Regions from separate parts of the Homo sapiens genome. Here region 2 is linked to region 1. The links are contacts of gene promoters, found by promoter capture Hi-C in blood cells and fetal thymus (Javierre and others, 2016). All regions are on one chromosome and are shown on one strand. The core of a region is centred on a gene start or on the middle of the fragment in contact, and the rest is flanking DNA. Distances in the headings are between cores, read along the strand shown.

Region 1 (6,558 bases), core at 1,255-3,754:
AACTGTCAGTCTACTTATAAAGTCCAGGATTTAAATGCTAAAGACAAGAGAACCTGAAAAAGGCTTACTCAAACTCCTCTCAGCAAGAGCCCTTAGTCTCCATTCCCACCTTCCTCCAATCCAGCTCACAGTGACCAGTCACGTTACTTTTTTTTTTTTTTTTTTTTTTTTGAGACGGAGTCTCGCTCAGTTGCCCAGGCCAGAGTGCAATGGCACAGTCTTGGCTCACTGCAACTTCCACCTCCCAGGTTCTAGCAATTCTCCTGCCTCAGCCTCCCGAGTAGCTGGGATTACAGGCACCCACCATCATGCCCGACTAATTTCTGTATTTTTGTAGAGATGGGGTTTCACCATGTTGGCCAGGCTGATCTTAAACTCCCGACCTCAGGCAGTGACCTCTTTTCTGTACACCGAATTCCTTCTTCAGTACAGACAGAGTTACTACTTCATTCTTCTCTCAACATTATAATTGTTTTGCGGTTTCTGGGGAGAATTTATCTTACTTATTTCCTTATCTCAAAGGCCTATGCAGAACAGCTAAATAGGTAACTGATGAGAAATATACTACTAGACAAACTCTAACACTCACTCAACCTAAAGGTCTTAGAAATTTGTTCTGTGACATTTTATTGAAACTACACCCTGCATCCAACCAAAAGTAAGGGCTGAATGACTCCTTTTATCCTAGAGTGCACTAGTCTCTGGGGTATACATGCACTCCTCAATCAGTTCTCAGATGATTCTGCCTCTAAGAGCAGCAGAAACTACAGGTAATCATCTCCGGGCTTACTTGAAGTTGTGTGCTCATTCCAAAATCTGCCTTGCTCACTCAAGAGTCCAGGTATCACTGGCCTTCGAGGTCATTAGGCAGCATCCAGTCTTTGAAGCAAACCATTCCAGGTTTTTGACTCTGCTTTCCTGTCAATGTCAGCTAGAGGAACTCTTCTCCCTGCCTTGGCCCTGGCTGGTCCTGGTTCCACTCTGGCTCATTTGCTTCCACACCTGGCCTATGATACCACATGACTAATTCCTTCCTGTGTGCCTCTGGCCCAGGCTTGCCAAAGGAATGCACTCAGAGCAGCTCTACCTATTCCTGTCCATCAGTTGCTGGTTGCGCACTGGCACTGCACATACCTGCTCCACAGAATCTTAAACCTTCAGGACTCTACCTGCTCACAGGTCCTGGGTTCCTACAGGCGTTCTTCATCAAGGGTGGGGCCACAGCTTTGCCCCAAGAGGGCAACCTGCCTCCTTGTTCCTGTACTGGCTTGAGACTCCTAGGCTGTGTCTGAACTAGCTGATAGGCCAGAAGCTTTAGGATGAAAAGAATACTGGAGGAGTCCTCAAAGTTAGAACTTTTATTGGTGTCTGTGTCCCCTCACTCATCTTAGCTATCTTGACCCTTCCCTACTTACCTTAATGATTTCGTGATTTCAATGAAAAAGACGCAACCTAGATAAGATTGCAAGGTCCCATACCTTCCTGGGGGCAGAGTTGACCTCAGACAGGGTCTTGCTTTGTTGCCCAGGCTGGAATGCAGTGGCGTGATCTCAGCTCACAGCAGCCTCAAACTCTCGGGCTCAAGCAATCCTCCCACCTCAGCTTCCCATATAGCTTGGGCTACAGGCGTGCACCACCATGCCCAGCTGATTTTTAAATTTTTTGTAGAGACAAGTTCTCCCTCTGTTGCCCCAGCTGGTTTCGAACTCCTGGGCTCAAGCGATCCTTGCTCTTTGGCCTCCCAAAGTGTTGGGATTACAGGTGTGAGCCACTGTGCCCAGCCCGACCTTTTGTTAATACTCCCATCTAATTGTCCAAACGGACTTGAACAAAAGAATCTTCTTCCCAATACTGCCAGGGAGGGCAAAATTCTTCAAATTCATGTTTGAGGCCATAAACGAACAGGAGTAAAATGGAATCCGCAGGAAGCAATGACAAGAAACCCAAAAACATTCATTTCCCTCCAGCCCAAGTGGCAGATGGGATCTCAAATACACCACGGTGTGATGCGTGACAGGAGGCATCCACTGGGGATGTGGAGCATTTTAAGTGCCCTGCAGAGGGTGGGCCTGGGTCACCCCCCCCCCCACCGCGACACCCCTCCCCAGGCAACATTCCTGGGGAGTCTGGACCTCCCTTGGTGGACCGACACCCGAGGGTCTCTAGGGTTTTTCACCCCATATCGGGGTGAACTGAAGGCATGGGAAGAGGCAGCCCCACAGCCTGGGTCCCCAAAACCCCCTCCGGGCTGAGAGCAAGAGATGCCGCCTGGAGGCCACTCACCAAGCAGCTCCGCTGGCTCAGCAATGGGGGTCGTCCGGGTCTGGGTCATTGCCACTGGCTCGTCCCTCCTCCCACCCTTGCTTCCTGGACTCAAGAGCTGCTGGGCTCTCTGCGCGCCGGCAGTGGGCTCCGCAGGCTGTCTCCTACACAGAGCAGGCGGGAGGAGGGCTCTGGGTTGCTTCCCGCGCCGCAGCCGCGCGCTTCCGGCGGGGTCGCCGCCACTTCCGCTCGAGCGCGCCTCGCGCGGCCGCGGCGCGAGCCGGGACCCCTGGAAGGGTCGGGTGCGCGGCCCAGGAGGTACCGCTGTCTCCTCACAATCGGCCAGGCCTGCAGCCGCTGCCGCCGCTGCCGCCGCCGCCGCCGCCGCCGCCGCCGCCCTACTCAGGGAGTGGCCCAGGCCTGCGGCGCGCCACCCTCACCTCCTTCATTCCTACCGTCAAAGCCCAGCCTTGGCTACCTGACCCCCCTGTGGTCTCGAACTCGGTTAGTCCGGTGAAGGGACAGAGAAGCCTGGGTTCCCGGCGGCATCACTGAGATGCTCAGTCCTGAATTCTGCCCTCCATTAGGATTATCTGCTTTGTGGGATAATTTCCTCATTGGTTGAGTCAGTGAGTTGCGTGTCTGCAAGAGAGCATCCTATCTGGTGGGTCTTCATCTAGATCTTGCACATTTCTTACTAAGTTCATCCTAAGAATATCTTACAGATAAGGAAAGTGAGCTGCAAAGAAGTGTAAAAACAGGGGAAACAGGAGATAGCAGTATAAAGAGAAAAATTAAAACAGATCGTGTGACTTTCCTCTATTGTTAATTGATTTGGGGACATTTTAAACTTATAGAAAGAAAAGAAACACGGGTTTTGTTGACACATCTCAAAACAAAATGGGTGTAACACCTTTAAAATGTAAACTATTGTGCTGGATATGTTTGTATTATTTTGAAGTCATTTAAAGTAATCGCATGAGGTGTTGCCTGCTGTTGGACCAGTAGTTTCTTTTTAGTATTCAAGCAAAGGCATAGTGAGGAAATAGTAAGAAAAAAAGAAGGAATGCTGTAACAGGAAACAAGGGAAAGGAGGAGCAGAGGAAAAGGGCAGGAAAGGTTTAACATTTACGTAGCACTTGCTATGCACCAGACACTTTTAAGCTCTTTAAATGTATTAACTCCTCTAGTTCTCACCACAGCCCTATGAAATGGGTATACTATTATCACCTCTGGTTTACAAAGAAGGCAAGTGAGGTCAAGAGAGGTTAAGCAACTGGCCCAAGGTTACACCGTAAGTGGCAAAACCTTTGCTTGAGCACATCAATTTGGCCCTAGAGTCTATGCTTTTTTTTTTTTGAGAAGGGCCTCTTTCCTGCTGCCTAGGCTGGAGGGCTGTGGCACCATCATGGCTCACTGCAGCTCCAACCTGCCGGGCTCAATGAATTCTCTCACCTCAGCCTCCTGAGTAGCTGAGACCGCAGGCACATACCACCTTGCCCAGCTAGGCTTTTTTTTTTTTTTTTGAGATGGAGTCTTGCTCTGTCACCCAGGCTGGAGTGCAGTGGTGCGATCTTGGCTCACTGCAACCTCTATCTCCCGGGTTCAAGTGATTCTCCTGCCTCAGCCTCCCGAGTAGCTGGGATTACAGGTGCCTGCCACCATGCCCAGCTAATTTTTGTATTTTTAGCAGAGACGGGGTTTCACCACCTTGGCCAGGCTGGTTTCAAACTCCTGACCTCATGATCCACCCGCCTTGGCCTCCCAAAGTGCTGGGATTACAGGCGTGAGCCACCACTCCCAGCCTATTTTTTTTTTTGGTATTTTTTTTATAGTGACAGGGTTTCACCATATTGCCCAGGCGGGTCTCAAATTCCTGGGCTCAAGGGGTCCGCCCGCCTCGACCTCCCAAAGTGTTGGGATTACAGGTGTGAGCCACTGTGCCTGGTCCTAGAGTCTATGCTTATTTTTTTAAAAAAAATTTTATTTATTTATTTATTTTTTGAGACAGAGTCTAGCTCTGTCACCAGGCAGTGGCGTGATCTTAGCTCACTGCAATCCCCGCCTTCTGGGTTCAAGCCATTCTCGTGCCTCAGCCTCTCAAGTAGCTGGGATTACAGGCATGCGCCACCATGCCCAGCTAATTTTTGTATTTTTAGTAAAGACGGGGTTTCACCATGTTGGCCAGGCTGGTCTCAAACTCCTGACCTCAGGTAATCTGCTCACCTTGGCCTCCCAAAATGCTGGGATTACAGGTGTGAGCCACCATGCCTGGCCTATGCTTCTAATCACCACACTATATTTCCTCTAAAGAGAGGGCAAGACTTGAATCAACTGGATTTGATGCTACTGAGTAGGAGTAGACAAGAGAGGTTTGCAAGGTAATTACTCTTCCATGATGTGAGATTATGGGCTAAAATGTTTCATAGAACAAAAATGCCATGAATAAAGTTTAAAAAGAGGAAACATACAGTGCACAAAGAATTAACATCTGGAATAGATAGTGAAAACAAATATATATAAGAAAAAGACAACCCTACAGAGAAATGGGCAAATGTATAAATAGACAATAGATGAAGAAGTAAGAATGAAATAAAACTGACCACATAAAAAAGATGCTTAACTGCACTAGTGATGCTGGCATGCAAAGCAAAAAAATAGAGAGATCCATTTTCTCCCACACTGGCTAAAACTGAAATTTGAAAATATCAATTTTGTGGAAAAGTGAATATTCTTAGTAGAAGTATAAATCAGGATAGCCACTGCTAGGGGTGGGGGTAGATTTGGCAGTATTAATTGAAGTTAAAATATTAAAATTAATCTTTGAAGTAATATTGATTATACTGAAGAACATTGCTTCAGACATTCTAATTTAACTTTTTTATTCTACAGATAAACAGGTGTTCAAAAAGAGGTATGCAAAATATTTAACTGGAAACTTTTTTTGCATAATAGTTTAAAATTAGAAAAATATAATTTCAGCAGGTAAATAAACTATGGTAATAGTTTACTCATTCTCTAAACAAATATTTGTTGATTGCTTACTAGGTATAAGGCATTATTCTGGACATTGAGGATAAATTGACAGTTATCTTTGTGAACTAGAGAAAGATGATAGGGTGGGTTAGGGGCTAATTAACATTCCCCAGCCCAGAGCCTTCCCCTTAATTTTTTTTACATCTTGATAGAATGATTTCAATTTGTTCTGTAAATCACACTGGACTCCCCTGTAATGATTACAGAAAGAAAAATGTTTTTTATATGGATATATGGGTATACCCCAATTTGAAGGCATAAAGGCACAATAGCGGACTCTAAAGTAGGAATGAGGAAAGCTGGAAAGGAGGGGGCTATGCTGATATAGACCATCAAGAAAAGCTTGAAGAGATGTCCCAAATACCCTGATGACTTACTTTTCACTGAAATGCAAAGAAATTGGCATCTTAGATATGCTTCCAAAGATTGTGCCCTACCCCCTGGACAGCTTTTAATGAAGGCAGGACTACAGCAAGAGAAACAGCCAGATAATTGGTTAAAAAGAAAGACTTGCAGGGGCTTGTTTCTTATTATGTTTATATGGTAAATGCCTAGTTAGGACAAAGACAAAGAGCTTGAACATGGTTTGCTCACACTCTCCCTGGTGAATAGATTCAATTACAAAAGAGATTGATGTCTCAACCATAGCAAAAACCTTGTCAAGCTCTCAACTGAGACCACAACATGCTTGTTTAAAAGTGTGGAGAAGGGGCCAGGAGAGGAAACAACATGACAAGGAGTTTATAAATCTAAAGGATGACTTTCTTGCTGCATGTAACTAGTATGTGACTGCTTCTGCATTCCCTTCGATCTATCCTTGGCTTTCTCAATGTGAATATTTTTGTTCTAAAAATTGGGGACCAAATCTGGTCCTCTCAAGGAGAAGTAAGAAGAACCCCAATGTCTTTCTTCTTCCAGCTAATTTAAAATAATTGGATTTAGCCAGGTGTGGTAGTGCATGGCTGTAGTCCTAGTTATTCAGGAAGCTAGGGCAGGAGGATGGCTTGAGCCCAGGAACTCCAGGCTAGTGCACTATAACTGCACCTATGAATAGCCACTGCACTCCAGCCTGGGCGACAGAGCGAGACTCCGTCTCAAAAAAAAAAAAAAAAAAAAAAAAAGCATATTGGATTTGTCAGCAGAAAGCCTTCCAAAATGAGGAAAGATGGGACCTGGACTTGAGTGCCAACTCTAGAATCACTTTCATAGCCACACGGGAAAGTAAAACACTATCTGAATCTCAAAATATTCTGTCTTAAG
Region 2 (6,558 bases), core at 1,922-4,421, 390 kb before region 1:
TAGAGAAGGAGCATATATGGCAATTAAGAGAAGTATATAATGAGCCCCCATGTAACCAGCACCCAGATTAAAGTTATCAATTCATGGCCAGTCTTGCCTTATGCTCATACATACTGTGTATTTTGAAGCAAATCCCAGATACCATGTCATTTCATATGTAAATATTTCAATTATTTACCTCTAAAAGATAAGGACTCTTTTTAACATAACTACAGTACTATTATCACAGCAAATAAAAATAATGCTTACTCACTTTGGGAGGCCGAGGCGGGCGGATCACCTGAGGTCAGCAGACCGAGACCATCCCGGCTAACAAGGTGAAACGCCTGAAACGCCGTCCCTACTAAAAATACAAAAAATTAGCCGGGTGTGGTGGCGGGTGCCTGTAGTCCCAGCTATTCGGGAGGCTGAGGCAGGAGAATGGCGTGAACCTGGGAGGCGGAGCTTGCAGTGAGCCGAGATCACGCCCCTGCACTCCAGCCTGGGTGACAAGAGCAAGACTTCGTCTCAAAAAATAATAATAATAAAATAATAATAATACTTACAAAATACTCAGTGTTCATATTTCCTCAATTATGTCCTGATTTTTTTTTTTTTTTTTTTTTTTTGAGACGGAGTTTTGCTCTGTCGCCCAGGCTGGAGTGCAGTGGTGCGATCTCGGCTCACTGCAGCCTCAGCCTCCCCGGTTCAAGTGATTCTCCTGCCTCAGCCTCCCGAGTAGCTGGGATTACAGGCCTACGCCACCACACCCAGCTAATTTTTGTATTTTTAGTAGAGACGGAGTTTCACCATGTTGGCAAGGCTGGTCTCTAACTTCTGACCTCAGGTGATCCACCCGCCTTGGCCTCCCAAAGTGCTGGGATTACAGGCCTGAGCCACCGGGCCGGGCCTATGTCCTAATTTTTTATAGTGTGTTCAAATCAGGATCTCAATAATGTCCATACCTTCCAAATGATTGAAATGTTTTTTGTCTCTTTTAATCTGTTTCCCCTGCCCCGCTCCTTTTCTTTTCCCTGCAATTTTATATCCTTATGTTGTCCTTTAACATCTTCTGCCCTCCTGATTTACTGTAAATTGGTAATTAGTAGATCTGAAGATTTGATAGGATTATGAGTCTGTCTGTCTTAATTACCGTCATGACTATTCCATAAGTAGAATACAAGTGTAGAAAGTAGAATTGTGTCAGCATGCTAATTCTCCCATACACGGCTCTAGACACTGGAGATACAAAGAAGTAAACAAAACAGAACAAAAGCTCCTGCCCTTATAGACTTTTATATTCTAGTGTATATTTTCCTAAACTTTCAGCCCTCTCCATTTTGCTTTCTTCTTGGGTTACAATCAAAGTCCAACACTTTATTTTCTTTTTTTTTTTTTTCAGGATCTCACTCTGTTGCCCAGGCTAGAATGCAGTGGCTCAAACAGGTCTTACTGCAGCCTCAACCTCCCAGGCTCAAGTGACCCTCCTACCTAAGCTTCCTGAAGAACTGGGACTGCAGGCATGTGCCACCACACCTGGCTAATTTTTTTCTTTTTCTTTTTTTTTTTTTTTTTTTTTTTTGAGACGGAGTCTTGCTCTTTCGCCCAGGCTGGACTGCAGTCGCGCTATCTCGGCTCACTGCATGCTCCGCCTCCCGGGTTCATGCCATTCTCCTGCCTCAGCCTCCGAGTAGCTGGGACTACAGGCACCCGCCACCACGCCCGGCTAATTTTTTCTATTTTTAGTTCAGAAGGGGTTTCACCGTGTTAGCCAGGATGGTCTCGATCTCCTGACCACGTGATCCACCTGCCTCGGCCTCCCAGAGTGCTGGGATTACAGGCGTGAGCCACCGTGCCCGGCCTTTTTTTCTTTCTTTTTTTTTTTTTTTTTTGTAGAAAAAAGGTCTCACTTAGTTGCTCAGGCTGGTCTCAAACTCCTGGGCTCAAGTGATCCTCCTGCGTCAGCCTCCCAAAGTGCTAGGATTACAGGCGTGAGCCACAGCACCCAGCCCAACACTTTATTTTCTTGCCAATACTCTCGATTCCCTTGCCCCCTTCTTTGTCATCACATCCATCTCGGTGCCAGCTATCTGCTTTCTTAGTGCCTACTCCTGAGCACAGGCATGCAGTGCTTATGAAGTTACACACTAGGGCAGATTGTTCCCACCAATTCTGTATGGGTATCTGCTCAGCATTCCTGTGTTTCACTGAGAACCTCATGCCCCCACTCTCTTCAACAATTTCTTACTTTTCCCAGATCCCAATTTCTCACAAATGAGAACTAACCTCAATTCCTAAGAAATAACCTCAATTCCTAATTTCCAGAAAAAAAAACCCATAATAATTCACAGTTATTCTGTGCCAAGCACTCTTCTAAGTATTTTACATTACTAACTCAGTGAATCCTTATAATAACCCTAATTCAGGCAAAATACTTCGACTAGTGCCAAGCGTATAGAAAATGCTTAGTAATATTTGTTTTTTGAGACAAGAGTCTTATTCTGTTGCCCAGGCTGAAGTGCAGTGGCACAATCACAGCTCACTGCAGCCTAAACTTCCCAGACTCAAGCCATCCTCCCACCTCAGCCTCCCAGGTAGCTGGGATTACAGGTGCACAACACCACAACCAGCTAATTTTGAAATTTTTTGTAGAGATGGGGTTTCATCATGTTGCCCAGGCTGGTCTTGAACTCCTGGGCTCAAGCAATCCTTCCCCATCTCAGCTTCCCAAAGTGCTGGGATTACGAGTGTGAGCCACCATGCCCGGCTTGTAATAAATATTATCTATTATTGTCTAGGCATGGTGGCTTATGCCTGTAATCCCAATGCTTTGGGATGCCAAGGTGGGCGGATTGCCTGAGGTCAGGAGTTTGAGACCAGCCTGGCTAACATGGTGAAATCCTGTCTCTACCAAAAATACAAAAATTAGCTGGGTGTGGTGATGCATGCCTGTAGTCCCAGCTACTCGGGAGGCTGAGGCAGGAGAATTGCTTGAACCTGGAAGATGGAGGTTGCAGTGAGCTGAGATTGTGCCACTGCACTCCAGCCTGGGAGACAGAGAAAGACTCCATCTCCAAAAAAAAAAAAAATTATATATTATTTTATGTTATTAAACTTAATACCCACTATCCCACTCAATAGTGTTAGTTCTTAGAGTTACTACAATACATAATCTAGATACTGCAGATCATTTAGAATGTCCTGCTCTCCCTATGTTTATCTGTCTCATTTCCATACCTCTGTACATGCTGCTGCTTTTGCTTGGATTGTTCCATCTGTCCCTACTGGTGACTTCCTGCTCCTTGAAGAGACTTCTCCAAGAGGCCTTCTCTGACTGTCTCCACTGTCCCCTCCATCAGATTAATGTGCCTCTTTTGTTCCTTTTTATATATACGTACATAGTACTTTGTCTTATTGGCATAACTTTCTCCAGATAAAAAGGAGGAAGAAATCCTTTTTACTAAGTGCCTGCTATAATGTCTTGCAGTATTTCATTTAATCCCCATGCAGCCCAGTGGGTAGATGGTGGTCTCTACATATTATAGCTAAGAAACCTGAGAATGAAAACTAGTAAGTAATTTCTACAAAAGCACACAGCCAGTGAAAAATCAGAAACAGATTCATTCCCAGGTCCCACTCTAAATTAGCCTGTGTACTTTCAGTTACACCCACACACATTCCTAAGTTTAAAACACATTTTAGAAGCTGATGTTTGTTTTTGATGGGTGCCATGTTCCTTATGCAAGCATGATTTTGCTTTGAACTTGATGCTCAATGGATGTTCTCTCTCTTGGTCATGCAAGCATGCTTTTGTTGGATCAATTTCAAAGAATATTCACATTCCCAGGCATGTTTTTCTTTACTGCTATACCTTCTTGAAATAAAAATTTTCTGATTGAATATATTTGTAATCAGCAACCATTTTATTAGCTAGTAATTGTTTATTTTTAATATTTCTTAGAATCTCATAGTAATATACTTTGTGACACCTGAGTTGGCTTTTTATTTTCTTTTTTTTTTGAGACGAAGTCTCGCTCTTGTCCCCCAGGCTGGAGTGCGATGGCGTGATCTCGGCTCACTGCAACCTCCACCTCCCAGGTTCAAGCGAGTCTCCTGCCTCAACCTCCCGAGTAGCTGGGATTACAAGTGCCTGCCACCACGCCCGGCTAATTTTTGTATTTTTAGTAGAGACGGGGTTTCACCTTGTTGGCCAGGCTGGTCTACAAACTCCTGACCTCAGGTGATCCACCCGCTTCGTCCTCCCAAAGTGCTGGGATTACAGGCGTGAGCCACCGTGCCTGGCCGCTTTTTATTTTCTAATTACTGACTATGCATCCAAAAGTTAAAGTTGCCTGATCTATAACTTGTAGGTCAGATTTCCAAGTAATACCACGAGTAATTTGAAATCATTTTACTTACCTTTCTTTCATTTCTCAACATTCTAGCCCCTTGTAATTCACATGATAAGGTATATCATAGTCCCAATAAAGCATCACTTAGGGAAAACTAATAATGTACAGTAAAATAAGATAACTGCAAATAAGGATAGAATGAAGTAATAACATTACAAATTACAGTAGCATAAAATAGAGTTTTTTAGAGTAAGAGAATTACTAATAACTTCATCCCTCCCCTTCACTTACTCCCACATCTAACATTTGGGCAAGGCCTGTTAATTCTGCCTTTAAACATCTCAGATCTGCCCATTTTTCTTCACTGCTGCTTTCACTGTAGTTTAAGCCACCTTCATCTCTTAGCTGGAAAGCTACAGTAGTCCTTTAAGTGATCTCCCTGACTGTACATTCCTTACACCCTTCACACTTCTCCTTTCTATAGTCTCCATGCAGGGTCCAGATGAGCTCTTTAAACCATCAACCAGATAAGCTTTTTAAACCATAAATCACATCTCATCACTCCTTTGCTGAAATAGGTAATGATCTTTTTAAATGCTGCATTGACAAAACAGACATAGTACATAAATCTGGGTTTTTCTTGCTCCAAATTGCTCAAAGTAACACATTTTAATGCACACATTTAGCTAGATTTTTGAGTCCCCCATCCAGACTTCTAGGTAATATCACCTGACACAGAGCAATGATAAAGAAAACATGTTCTGCTGGGCACAGTGGCTCACGTCTATAATTCCAGTGCTTTGGGAGGCTGAGATGGGAGGATTGCTTGAGGCCAAAAGTTCAAGACCAGCCTGGGCAAAATAGTGAGACCCCGACTCTACAAGTAAAAATTTAAAAATTAGTCAGATATGCTGCCATATGCCTTTAGTCCCAGCTACTCAAGAGGCTGAGGTGAGAGGATCACTTGAGTCCAGGGGTTCGAGGTTACAGAAAGTTATGATCACCCACTGTACTCCAGCTTGGGCAACAGAGCAAGACCCTGTCTCTAAAAAAAAAAAGAAAGAAAAAAGAAAATGTGTTTTTTTACAAAACATGCCTCACAATATCCAAACCGTCATTAACTGGACAACTGCCCATTTGGTTGCAGCAGAAAGCAAATTCGCCTAGATTCTAGTAATAGAGACAATGTGAATAGAACTTTAGAAATTCAGTTCTTACAGATCTGGATCTAACTATGGTAGTGGTACCATAAATTTCATAGCTGTACCCCTGAAGAAAGGATTTAAGAATGCCAAATGAAAAGTTTCCTGTTAAAAGAAGTTAATCTTACACAGGGAAAAAAAAATAATAGCAGTTGTTAAACATAGGAGGGCATACAGAAAAGTGAGTTGGATCATAATATATTAATATAAACCTAAGTATAGTTGTGCATATTCATTAATGTTTCAGTCTAAATCAGTTCATCTGAGCCAGTATCAAGACTTTTGTATTCTGTAAAATATATTCTCTCCTTTGATGCTAGGTTAATGAAAACACCAGGATTCTTAAGTAGGGGAAAAACATACACACATTTATATGATGTTGATGTGTCATTACCAAATAAAAGCACACATATTTTCATTTAATTTTAATATGTCATTGCTTAATGAAATACATGTTTATATCTTTAAAGAGGTATTTATCAGCCACTCAGAGTTTACTAAACTTAAAGATGTTCAGACTCTGGATTAGCTAATTTCTCTTTGTTACTAAGAGGTTGATTATCCTTAGTCAGCATCCTGAATCCTATCCCTCTCCAATTCTGCAACTCAATAAAAGAAGAAAAAAGAGAAACTATGCATAAGCCCACAGTTAGAGTAATAAATAGGTCAAACTCCTCCTCTCACATGATCCTTTTATTGGTTCCTCCAACCTACTCTGCATTCTTTTTTTTTTTTTTTTTTTTTTTGAGACGGAGTCTCTGTCTCTGTCGCCCAGGCTGGAGTGCAGTGGCGCGATCTCCTCTCGCTGCAAGCTCCGCCTCCCGGGTTCACGCCATTCTCCTGCCTCAGCCTCCCGAGTAGCTGGGACTACAGGCGCCCGCGACCACGCCCGGCTAATTTTTTGTATTTTTAGTAGAGACGGGGTTTCACCGAGTTAGCCAGGATGGTCTCGATCTCCTGACCTCAGGTGATCCGCCCGCCTCGGCTTCCCAAAGTGCTGGGATTACAGGCGTGAGCCACTGTGC

Evidence for each region. Contacts are between HindIII fragments. The CHiCAGO score rates a contact against its expected background, and 5 or more counts as called.
Region 2: a fragment that was not itself captured here is called in contact with the fragment with the promoter of KHDC1 in region 1 in 1 of 17 cell types (non-activated CD4 T cells); the score reaches 5.3 in non-activated CD4 T cells.

What each region holds. Positions count from the first base shown.
Region 1 is chr6:73,259,142-73,265,699 of GRCh38, reverse strand. It overlaps KHDC1 (KH domain containing 1), which reads left to right and starts at 2,504. Exons shown (of 4, transcript NM_030568.5): 1 at 2,504-2,926. All of the region lies in intron 2 of LOC122539213 (KHDC1-KHDC1L), which reads left to right. It also overlaps the pseudogene KHDC1-AS1. RefSeq lists a silencer at 2,391-2,660. The HindIII fragment of the contact is 4,328 bases long and covers 1,315-5,642 here.
Region 2 is chr6:73,645,511-73,652,068 of GRCh38, reverse strand. All of the region lies in intron 1 of SLC17A5 (solute carrier family 17 member 5), which reads left to right. Among named protein-coding and RNA genes, the nearest start is that of SLC17A5, 5.2 kb to the left of the region's middle. The HindIII fragment of the contact is 3,388 bases long and covers 1,478-4,865 here.